4 separate regions of the Homo sapiens genome follow, and regions 2, 3 and 4 are each linked to region 1. The links are contacts of gene promoters, found by promoter capture Hi-C in blood cells and fetal thymus (Javierre and others, 2016). All regions are on one chromosome and are shown on one strand. Each heading gives the region's core, a stretch centred on a gene start or on the middle of the fragment in contact. The rest is flanking DNA. Distances are from core to core; before and after follow the strand shown. Region 1 holds the start of RASA2 (RAS p21 protein activator 2). Region 2 holds the start of TRPC1 (transient receptor potential cation channel subfamily C member 1). Region 3 holds the start of ATR (ATR checkpoint kinase). Region 4 overlaps U2SURP (U2 snRNP associated SURP domain containing).

Region 1 (2,814 bases), core at 315-2,814:
TCTGATTCTAAAAAGGGATGCCTTTAAAAATAAGGGGGAAAAAACCCTGTAACACGTTGATACTCTTTAAATGAGAATAATTTTAACAAGGGCAATGACAGAGAATGGAAAGGAAGGAAGAGATTTCAGCAGAGTCAGAAGGATGTGGCAACTGAAAACAGCATTGGGACAAGGGATAAGAAAAAGTCAAAGTTTCTGGCCTGAGTAACAGTATAAGATGTGAACTCAGATTTGGAAAGGGAGACAGGAAATTAAGTTTTGGACTTATGTTTGAAATGACAGCAAAACATTCATATAAGAGGAAGTGGTTCACTTTATCCAACAAGTGTAAAGATCACATGGGGAAATAGAAGTCACCTGCAACACAGGCAGAACTGGAAGCTTCGCTGGCCAGGTCCATGTTAAACTCTGACCATTCTCTGGGGCTGTCCAGCCTTTGCACAGGCGGCGCGTTTGTCTTCAGTTTTCAGGTTTCCCCGTCCTATTTCTTATCTCCCAGTGCCTCTGGCCTTTTCTGTGTCTCCCTCCAGAATGAGCTGGAGCTCTCTTCATCTTGACCTTTGTGTAGTCTCTGAGGTCTGAGGCCATCACTATGTCTGACCCTCAAAAAATATTTGTTGACTGACTGGCTTATTCCTGTTGTTGCCCTGGAAAAGAATTACCCTGCCCGATTAAGTCACAGTTTCTTCCTTCTTAGGGCAGCGTAGTTAACAACCTCAACACCAGGAAATTGTCTTCCTCATCACATACCAGGGTATTATTCATGCAGTTTACTCACTGTAAAGAGTTCCCTTGAAATAAAGCTAACAATTAGTCAAAGATTTACACATTTCCTAGGGTCAGTCAACTTTTTAACAAAGCCAACTTTTAGTAGTGGTGGCGGTGGCGGGGGGGAGCCCTTCTTTGCTTTTTCTGTTCCTGAAATACAAAAGTGATGGTAAATGCTTCAGAATTTCTCTATGAGAGGGTCTCAGGCACTGCACTCACGCTGGAGTTGGGGGTGGCTGGTCCTTTTCTTGAACCAGGTTTTGCAGAGAATTGGTCCTAGTAAAGAGTATTTGTGTGGGAGGAGTTTGGCTTGCTGGCGGGGAGTATTTGGATAATACTGGAAGAGCCTCAAATGCATCTCTTGCCTCCTTTTGAATAAGATACTTTTGAGGTCCACCCACCTGCCAAATTCCATTCTATTTTCTTCCCACAGGGAGTTTCCCTGATTGGGAAGGGCCTGTATTTCCCGCGAGCGTTAGGAGATGTGCAGGTCTATTCATTGGGGGAGCCCAATTCCCGGGAGGATTTAGGGATCACGGGAGGGCCGGGGCGTTCTCCTGGTGGGGATTTTAAGGCCGCTCAGAGCCACGACTGGGAGCTACCCTTAGCCAGCGCCCCAAGCCGGGAGTACGGTTCTCTGCAGGGTAGCCCGGCTCGGGGGTGGCGAAGGCGGTGAATGGAGACCCGGGGGGGGCGGGGGCGGGGCCGCGGCGGGCGGGGCGGGGCGGGGCGAGTCGGGCCGAGGCCCGGGGGCGGGGCCAGGCGCGCGGCTGGCCTGGGCCTAGGCCGCTGCTGGGCTCCGCCTCGCCCGGCTACGCAGGCGGCAGGGCTGCGGCACGGGCCGGGCGGCACCATGGCGGCGGCGGCGCCTGCTGCTGCGGCGGCTTCTTCCGAGGCGCCAGCGGCGAGTGCGACTGCAGAGCCCGAGGCCGGGGACCAGGACAGTCGCGAGGTTCGAGTGTTGCAGAGCCTGCGGGGCAAGATCTGTAAGCGGGGGCTGGGCTGAGGGGACGCCCTGGCGGCGCTGGGCGCGAGGCTGAGGGGGCGGCGGGTTCGCGGCGGTGGCGGCGCCGAGCTGCGCTGGGATCGCGGGCCCGGGAGGGGGCCTGGGCCGGGCGCGGTTGAGGCTGGAAGGGGGTGTGTTGGGGGGCGGCGTCGCCTCGACGGGGCGGCGTGGGCCGGGGCTGCTGCTCTCCGGAGGGAGTGGGAGCTGGAGATGGGCCTGGGGTGGGAGAGCCCGGGCTGCGCCGGCGTGAGGGGCTCGGTCGTGGGGAGCGGCCTGGACGCGGGGACGCTGGAGTCCGGGGCGCGGCCGGGGGCGCGGTCCGGGGGCGTGAGGAGCTTCCGGCCGCCCTCAGACTCAGGCCTTCGCGCGGCTGCGGGCGCTGGGGAGTGGCCCCGCGGTGGGAGCCGAGCAGTAATTATACGGAGGCGCGGCCCGAGGAGGTGGCGGGCTGGGAAGTGGGGCTGGCCCGAGGGGAGGGGGCTGTTCGTTTCCTGGGCTCGGCGAGCCTGGGAGAGGTTGAAAAAGGCGCCCTGAGCTGCAGGAAACGGGCCGCCCTGGGGCCCGAGTGGCTACCGCGCGGTCTGTTCGCGGGTGAGCGCCCCGGGAGGAGCTCGGCGGGACACCTGTACTTGCCCCACCTCGCTGCGGCCGGGACTTGAATCGAGGGACGGCGTGACAGGCGGGACTAAAGGCAGGATGTAGTGGCTTCCTGTGAGCAGGTCTCAAAACACAATCACCCAGCCCGCACTCAGCCCGCTTAATTCCCTTCCTTCTCATGCGTGTAATTGCTACTTTAGTGAGCGAGCCTACCAGTTGACTAAATACGAAATTTTGCTCAGAGTTGTCCGAGCATTACTGTGGACAGATTATTTGAGTTCTGTCATTTGAACATTTTAGTTTTAAAAACGACCCTTTGGTGTCAGGTTGCCATTTTTTTTTTCACAGTGGTTTATTTAGATGAAGTGCTTTTTGTTTTCTGTTTGTAAGAGAGATCAATAACATTTATTTTTGCATTTGTCGAAAATTAGCATTATTTTCTT
Region 2 (2,700 bases), core at 24-2,523, 1.2 Mb after region 1:
AATGCTCAAGATCACTAATGATCAGGGAATTCCAAGTCAAAACTGCTATGCCGTATGTACCACCCTACTTCCGCAAGAATGGCCATAATCAAAAAAATCAAAAAATAATAGCTGTTGGTGTGGATGCGGTGAAAAGGGAACACTTCTACATTACTGGTGGGACTGTAAACTAGTACACCACTATGGAAAACAGTGTGGAGATTCCTTAGAGAACTAAAAGTAGAACTACCATTTGATCCAGTAATCCCACTACTGGGTATCTACCCAGAGGAAAAGAAGTCATTACACGAAAAAGATACTTGCCCATGCATATTTATAGCAGCACAATTCGCAATTGCAAAAATGTGGAGCCAACCCAAATGCCCATGAATCAATGAGTGGATAAAGAAACTGTGATATATATATATATATATATATATGTGGTATATATATATGTGATATATATATAATGATGGAATACTACTCAGCCATAAAAAGGAATGAATAAATGGCATTCGCAGAAACCTGGATGGGACTGGAGACTATTATTCTTATTCTAAATGAAGTAACTCAGGAATGGAAAACCAAACATCGTATGTTCTCACTCACAAGTGAGAGCTAAGCTTTGAGGATGCAAAGGCATAGGAATGACACAATGGACTTTCGGGACTCGGGGAAAGGTTGGGAAGGGGGAGAGGGATAAAAGACTACAAAATTAGGTTCAGTGTATACTGCTCGATGATGGGTACATCAAAATCTCACAAATCATCACTAAAGAACTTACTCATGTAACCAAACACCACCTGTTCCTCAAAAACCTATGGAAATAATATGGAAATAAAAATTTATATATTTGTATAAATTATTTAAACATAATATAATTATATATCTATATATCCTTTATAAATGAGAGTTCATTTCCAGCCTAAAATGAGTACAACATACAAACCCACGAGTCTGGCTCTCCATTGTGCTTTAAAGCATAGTGCACCAGAATATGAAATAGCTGGACAATTCCACAAAGGATTTCGACTAAACATTAAGTCGTCAGAGACTCAATTAACATACTGCTCCATATTTGCTTAATTACCTTAAACCAGTACCCTGGGTGTGGAAAGGGACGATTGAGCGAAGTCTTCCTCAGACTGCGGTTCACCTCACCAGAGCGAAGGAAGCTGCAGCGGGCTCCAGGAGCCCAGTGCGTCCCCACCGCAGGCCCCACCCACCCACGCCCCGCTTGCCGCAGGCCCCGCCCACCCAAGCCCGCCCTTGCCGCAGGCTCCTCCCTAGTGTCGTCGCTACAGAGGAGCAGAGGATGACGTGAGGACAGAGTCGCGAACATCTCCTCGGAGCGCAGCTGGGCCAGCGGTTCCCACAGCCCTGGAGCCCAACGTGCGCAGAAGCGCCTCTTGGAGCTCCTCTCCCACAGATCTCTCGTCCTCTTCCTGGGCTAGGCCGCCCCAGGCGCGGCCCCTGCGACTCCTGGCACGGCCCCGTGCTCGGCTGCCGCCCTGGCGCGCGCCACACTGTCGTCCCCGGACGGGCGCGGACCGGCTCGGCCGGGGCGCCGGCGGCTGGGGAGGGGTCGCTGGCCCCGGGGCCGCGCATGCGCCGCCACCAACTTGGGGCTGTCAGTGGAGGGCGAGTGCTGGTTCTCAGGGGAGGCGACGCCCTTCGGGGCCAACGGGCCTCGAGCCGAGGCAGCAGTGGGAACGACTCATCCTTTTTCCAGCCCTGGGGCGTGGCTGGGGTCGGGGTCGGGGTCGGGGCCGGTGGGGGCCCCGCCCCCGTCTCCTGGCCTGCCCCCTTCATGGGCCGCGATGATGGCGGCCCTGTACCCGAGCACGGACCTCTCGGGCGCCTCCTCCTCCTCCCTGCCTTCCTCTCCATCCTCTTCCTCGCCGAACGAGGTGATGGCGCTGAAGGATGTGCGGGAGGTGAAGGAGGAGAATACGCTGAATGAGAAGCTTTTCTTGCTGGCGTGCGACAAGGGTGAGAGTTAGGCCCCTTTCTCCTCTGGACGCCCCTGTCCTCCAGACCTTTAGTCCTCTCCCCCGCCTCAACTTATATCGGGGCATTCCCTCTGTCTCAGGCGCCGAGTGTCTTCCCGCCTCGCCTGCTGCCTCAGGCGGTCTTCTCCTCACCGCCTCTGCCCTGTGAGTGTGGAGCTGGCGGGAGAGTGGAGCTGGGGCTGCGCCCTCGGAGCGCTGCACCGTCGGGGGTGGCTCTGGCCTTGGGGTCCGGGGTTTAGGTAGCGCCTTGGGAGCCCCGACCCCAGCGTTTTAGCGCCGCCCTTGCTACTGACCGCATGAATGACCTGGTCTTCTCTCTGGCTCGCAGTTCATTCCTTCCGGGAGTCGAGAGGCTAGTTTCCGACACTCCAGTCGGAAAATTCCGTCACCTTACCTTAGGATGCCTCGTATGGAGGGTTCTCATCACCTGGTTTTTGTTTTTCTTAAAAACAAAACCAGACCCTCTATTATTTAGCTTCACCTGACCAGTGCTTTAGCCAGTGACTGTTGACTGGCATTAATAACGGAATATCCTAGGTGGAGATACATGAAGTAAGGACGGGACGGAAGAAATTCTGCCTTAGTTGCCAAAACTTTCTCTGGATTTACGGAACGCCTTTGATTGTTAGTGCTTTTTATTGGAGAGAAAGATTTATTGCTCCCAGATCTTTCTTTGGGAGATAAAGATAGTGAAAAATAATTACAGGAA
Region 3 (2,700 bases), core at 13-2,512, 1.1 Mb after region 1:
GTGGAGACAGTGAGAAGTGTTAGATTCTAGATGTATCTTAAACATATGGTTGTCAGAACTAACTTATGGATTATTAAGCGACAAGGGAAAAAAACCAAGGATGACTCCTAGGCTTTTGGTTGGCATATTTACGATAACACAGGAGAAGGAACAAATTCAAGGGCGCAGTAAATCAGGCGTTCTGCTTTGGATATGTTAATTTTCACTTCCCAGTGTGGATGTTGAGTAAGCAACCTAATATATATCTCCGATCTAGAAATATAAATTTGGGAGTTATCAGCATATGGATGACATTTAAAGCCATGAGATTAGGTAAGATTACTTGGGAAGACAGCACAGATTAAAAGAGGGCCAAGGACATAGACTGAAAGCACATGTGAAAATAGTTAAGAATGACTTCTAGATTTCCAGTTTGGAGAACTAAGTGAATATGGTGCCATGTACTGAGATATCTCTACTTCAATGAATAAGAGAAAAATAATTTTTTTAATTTAAAAAAAGAAAGCTTGTGAAAGCTAGGACATGTGGGGAATTTGTATTGGATATTCTGAACCTTAACTACACATAGGACACTCAGTGAAACTACCAGTATACAGTAAATATACAATTCTATAGAAGACATGATTTGGAGAAACATATTAGTAGTCATCAAATAGCAGATTATAGTTGAAGGCAGGAGAGTGGAAAGGTCATTTAGCAAGATTATGCAGAGCAGACTGCTAATAGCAAAAAAACAATAGGACAAAATTTATCTGAGGGACTGAGGAAGAGCAGCCCATAAATTAGAACACTAATATCTTTTTTTTTCAGTAGTCTAATTGCCATAGTCAATTAAGAGGAAACATTTTGGAAGAAAAGGCCTTGAAAGCTTGAATCTGAAACCTAGCTCTGTTATCTGCTAGCTGTGCCTTTGGTTCTTCAACTTCTCTGTCCCTTTTTCTTAAACAGTGGTAACACTTGTTTCATTCTATGTCATGGATATACTATGAAAATTGATTAGCTTTTTTGATTCAAGTAGTTGTAATGAAAAAGCCATGACAATTAAAAACTATTAGACAACTCTCTGTGGGTCAGTTTTTCTATTCTTTCTCTTGGAATAGCTACAAATAAATGAAAGGTAACATAAACTCTACTGATGAAACCGACTATATATAATCCAAGAACCAATTATTTTTATTAACAGGACTCACGGAGGAAGACAGAAGAGGGAAGAGAAGTATTAACCAGTTAATTCTACTTTAAAGCAAAGTGGCAAAAATATACTCAGCTTCACAATGAGCCTGAAAGATGAAATTTGTAAACCAACTTCCTACAATGATCACTTTTCTTCCTCTTCTTTTAGAGAGGTAGAGGTTATTTTATAAACTAAACACAAAGTATACTTGCCACAGATAAGTGGAAAAAATTCACACACTCAAAAATAGTGATGCAGTTACGACAAGAATGGTCCCTTCATTTATCCTTTTATTCATATATTGAGACTAGATTATTTGGATGGCCAACCAGTGGAAATGAACACAACTGCGCTGCAAAAAGAAAGAGAAGTAGCTATCCCATTGGCTTAATGTCAGCTTTGACTTTGTGTGGAAAGTTTTCAAACAGTTTAAGAAATTGGGAAGCAGTTATTCCAAATGATAATTTAACTGCGGTAGCAGCACAAGCTTATTTATTTCTTGTTCGCAGTAGTGTAGAATTAAAACAAACAAAGCAAAACAAGCTCTACCGAGTCTTTAGGCCTGGTTCAGGGAAGCCTGCCTGTGTATTGAAGAGGTGTGAGAGCCATCAACACCTCTCCCTCCTTGTGGTAAGATACTGGTTTTCATGAGGTTTACAGACAACATGCATTTGCAAATGAAATATTAAATTGTCTCCAAATTTTGGCAACACTCTGTGCACGCTGAGATTTTGTGGACCCAGGGGTCTATCTCTCCAATTTCTGACTAAAATAACGGATCGGGAACTGGACGATCAATACGAGGGAGGTCACATCTTCAGTATGTACTATGACTTCACTTCAAAGAAAAAAACTGCCTTTTCCAGCAAGTGATGTCACTTGCAGAAAATGAGAAGCGGTGATTTTCTTTCAAGGGCAGTTTGGGGACAAAATGTAAGGCTAAAAACCAATTCCTCCACGAGTGATCACAAAGAACAGAAACTGATGGGTCAAGTCCCTCGTCTAAGGAAAAAGATTTTCGAGAAGAAAATGAGTGTAGAAAAGTGACCAGAAAGCGATCAGCAGGGACTCTTCCTCCAGCTGCAGGAAGCAAACTCTCGATCGGGGTGAGTGGTAAACCAGGGCCGGCAGACGCCTCTCTCCCCCACGGACCGGCTTCCCGCAGGTTTGTGGCGACTGCCCCATGTGCTATCAACGGGCACTCTGAGGGAGAAGCGCCCAAATCAGCCACGGAGCATCTCCACAAGGGCCGCAGCGGGGGCTTAGGGGATCCCAGCCATAGCGCAGCAGGGGAGGGGAGAGCACGTGAAACCCAAGCCGGAATCAGCGGAGGAGGATGCAGGACCCAGGCTGGGCCTAGCCCTACCTGCCCAGCTCCCGCAGGGCGGGGATCATGGAAGCCAGCTCCAGGCCATGTTCCCCCATGCTGAGGCTGCGAGGCACTAGTCAACCACGCCAACGCGGGTTCCCGGCGTCTCCAAAGCTACCGCTGCCGGAAGAGCGCGGCGCCCGACGGAGCCGTGTGG
Region 4 (2,700 bases), core at 190-2,689, 1.5 Mb after region 1:
GGTGAACGATGTACACCAAAATAATTAATTCATAATTAGTAATGGTCTTAACAGACATCGTTTAGTTACATAGAAACTTTGGTGAGGGGCCAGTTTCGGCTTCTTTACAAGGTATTGTGTCAGTTTTTTTTCCCCCTCCTCAGTACATTTTCTCGTCTCCCTCTCTTTGGGGGCGAGCTCTACCAACTCTTCTCAACAGACTCCTGACAAGAACATACCGTTAGGGAGCTATTACTAAAGCTAGCTACGTTCATAACAAGTCGTGCATAAGCCTCACAATTTTTGTTTCTTCTCAAAGTAATATTTTAAGTATTCCCTACTTGAGGTCTTGGATACATTGAAAACATTTCAATGTCTGTGTTCAGGCTTCCTTCTAAAATAGTGCTTCTCATGACTGAATGTATGGCTGTTCTCAATAAATAAATTATTGGATTATCCAGTAATCTTTTCTGTTTATATTGCCTTAGATTATAATCTCTTGATGCTATTAGCAGATTTCTTACTGATGTCTGTGAAAGGAATCAGAATATCTTAACTAATTTGGAGGCTGCATAATGTAGTGGGAAGATTATGAATTTTGTTAACAAGAGATTTGGGTTCAAATCCTGACTTGGTAATTAATTATATTTGCGATAATAAGGCAGATTGCTTAAACTCTGGAGCCTCAATTCCCTCATTTGTAATGTAGATATAATTCTTTTTTTACATGGTTGATATAAGGATCAAATGAGATAATGTCTATGAAGTACATAATAAATCTTAATTTCTTTCCCCTCTTTTTGTTTTTAGAGGAAATCAAAAGTTCTTAGCTTTCAAAATGTCAGGATAAATTTTAATCCTGTGATTTGGAATCTAAGTCATCAGCTGTCATAATGACTGCCCAGATAGCTGCTTTTTATTTATTTTATTTCTTTTTTTTTTTTTTTTTTTTTTTTGTGAAAGAGTTTCGCTCTGTCGCCCAGGCTGGAGTGCTGGAGTGCAGTGGCACAATCTCGGCTCATTGCAACCTCCGCCTCCCGGGTTCAAGTGATTCTCCTGCCTCAGCCTCCCTAGTAGCTGGGACTACAGGCGCCCGCCAGTACGCCCGGCTAATTTTTTGTATTTTAGTAGAGACGGGGTTTCACCATGTTGGCCAGGATGGTCTCGATCTCTTGACCTCGTGATCCACCCGCCTCAGCCTCCCAAAGTGATGGGATTACAGGCGTGAGCCACCGTGCCCCGCCCTGCTTCCCTGCTTTTTATTTCTAACACATAATTTATTAGAGAAATTGTAAGATCATTTTGGCTAATACTACAGTATTTAGAATTTCTAGCCTTTGATATCTGGTTTGATTTCCTTTCCTCTGGAAAGAACAGATGAGTGGCTTATATTTTACAATACAGATGGAGTGAACAGATACTTCTGTTTCATGATTCGTCGTTTTCTTTGGTAGTTACATTCCCGTTAATATGGATAGGGATGCTTATTATATTTCTAGACATTGGGAAAATGTTAATTTTAAATGTACAATATGGCAAAATTATTAACATTTCTTAATTATAAAAAGATTAAATTAGATAACCTCTACAGGTCTTCTAGTTGGGGTGTTTTTTTTTTTTTTTTTTTTTTTTTTTTGAGAGGGAGTCTTGCCTTGTCGCCCAGGCTGGAGTGCAGTGGTGCAATCTCAGCTCACTGCAACCTCTGCCTCCTGGGTTCAAGCAATTCTTCTGCCTCAGCCTCCCGAGTAGCTGGGACTACAGGCGCCTGGCCAATTTTTGTATTTTTAGTAGAGATGGGGTTTCATCTGTTGGCCTCTTGACCTTGTGACCCCCCCCCCCCGCCTCGGCCTCCCAAAGTGCGGGGATTATAGGCGTGAGCCACCGTGCCTGGCTTCTAGTTTTAAAATGATACTTTATGTATGTGTATGTACTTGAATGACTTACCTTTATTCATAATTGTCCCTAATGAAGAGACCCCTGTGCACTTTAATTTTCTGTGTAATTTTGTTGTGCTTTGCATTTTAGAGCCTGGCAGATGTAGACATTTAACAAATGTTCTAGAAATGAGCTAAAATTTTCCTGTGCATTTGTTTGTTTATCACTAGTCTAAAATATTGCTTGGTTGGGGAGGGGTGTTGATGTTATGTAGTAGCTTTCATTTTGAGAGGAGAGAGAGAGAGCCTGTAATTGTTTACTTATAAAATTGTTAAGCATATTTCCTTAGAATTTAATTTATAAAAAAATTACTGTTTTTGACTGTCAATTGTTTGCTTACTCAGCAAAATTAGGATATGAAGAAAATGTAGTATTTTCTTTCCTTCTGCCATCTCCTGTGCTGGTAATATTGCTAATGTAATGTAATTGTGTGCCCTGCTATTTCACTCTGTGACTATGGCTTTTTTTTTTTTTTTCTTTTTTGCCGTATCGCCAAAAATTGAGTTAGGTGAATGGATAAAACAAAATACTACAGGCTTCCTTGGACATCCAGTGCTGAATTGCTTTGGGAACTGTTTTGATTGACTGCCTTTGCTGATTAACAAAAAGTATCACTTTTAAGAAATAAGTAAACTGAGGACCTGTTCAAGGCTTGTGAACCTTAGGTATTTATTACTGCCAGTTTTCATTTTTTGTGGTACCTGAAAGTTTATGAAAAAGTCCAAACAAAATACAAACCTTGAAAATCAGGCTTTCAAACAGTTTGCCAATTTTAAACTGAATCTT

What was found. The method cuts DNA at HindIII sites, captures the fragments that hold promoters and counts their contacts. A CHiCAGO score of 5 or more calls a contact.
Region 2: a contact is called between the fragment with the promoter of TRPC1 here and the fragment with the promoter of RASA2 in region 1, in 1 of 17 cell types (fetal thymus). The highest score is 11.6, in fetal thymus.
Region 3: a contact is called between a fragment that was not itself captured here and the fragment with the promoter of RASA2 in region 1, in 2 of 17 cell types (activated CD4 T cells and total B cells). The highest score is 5.6, in activated CD4 T cells.
Region 4: a contact is called between a fragment that was not itself captured here and the fragment with the promoter of RASA2 in region 1, in 1 of 17 cell types (fetal thymus). The highest score is 5.3, in fetal thymus.

The regions. Positions count from the first base shown.
Region 1 is chr3:141,485,463-141,488,276 of GRCh38, forward strand. It overlaps RASA2 (RAS p21 protein activator 2), which reads left to right and starts at 1,565. Exons shown (of 24, transcript NM_006506.5): 1 at 1,565-1,754. The coding sequence starts at 1,622. RefSeq lists a silencer at 1,474-2,353. The HindIII fragment of the contact is 5,296 bases long and covers 380-2,814 here.
Region 2 is chr3:142,722,761-142,725,460 of GRCh38, forward strand. It overlaps TRPC1 (transient receptor potential cation channel subfamily C member 1), which reads left to right and starts at 1,274. Exons shown (of 13, transcript NM_001251845.2): 1 at 1,274-1,971. The coding sequence starts at 1,800. RefSeq lists a silencer at 1,518-1,567 and an enhancer at 1,826-2,692. The HindIII fragment of the contact is 1,344 bases long and covers 601-1,944 here.
Region 3 is chr3:142,576,106-142,578,805 of GRCh38, forward strand. ATR (ATR checkpoint kinase) reads right to left here and starts at 2,628. Exons shown (of 47, transcript NM_001184.4): 1 at 2,541-2,628. The coding sequence starts at 2,599. RefSeq lists an enhancer at 2,419-2,578. The HindIII fragment of the contact is 793 bases long and covers 867-1,659 here.
Region 4 is chr3:143,002,767-143,005,466 of GRCh38, forward strand. All of the region lies in intron 1 of U2SURP (U2 snRNP associated SURP domain containing), which reads left to right. Among named protein-coding and RNA genes, the nearest start is that of U2SURP, 2.5 kb to the left of the region's middle. The HindIII fragment of the contact is 3,034 bases long and covers 1-2,700 here.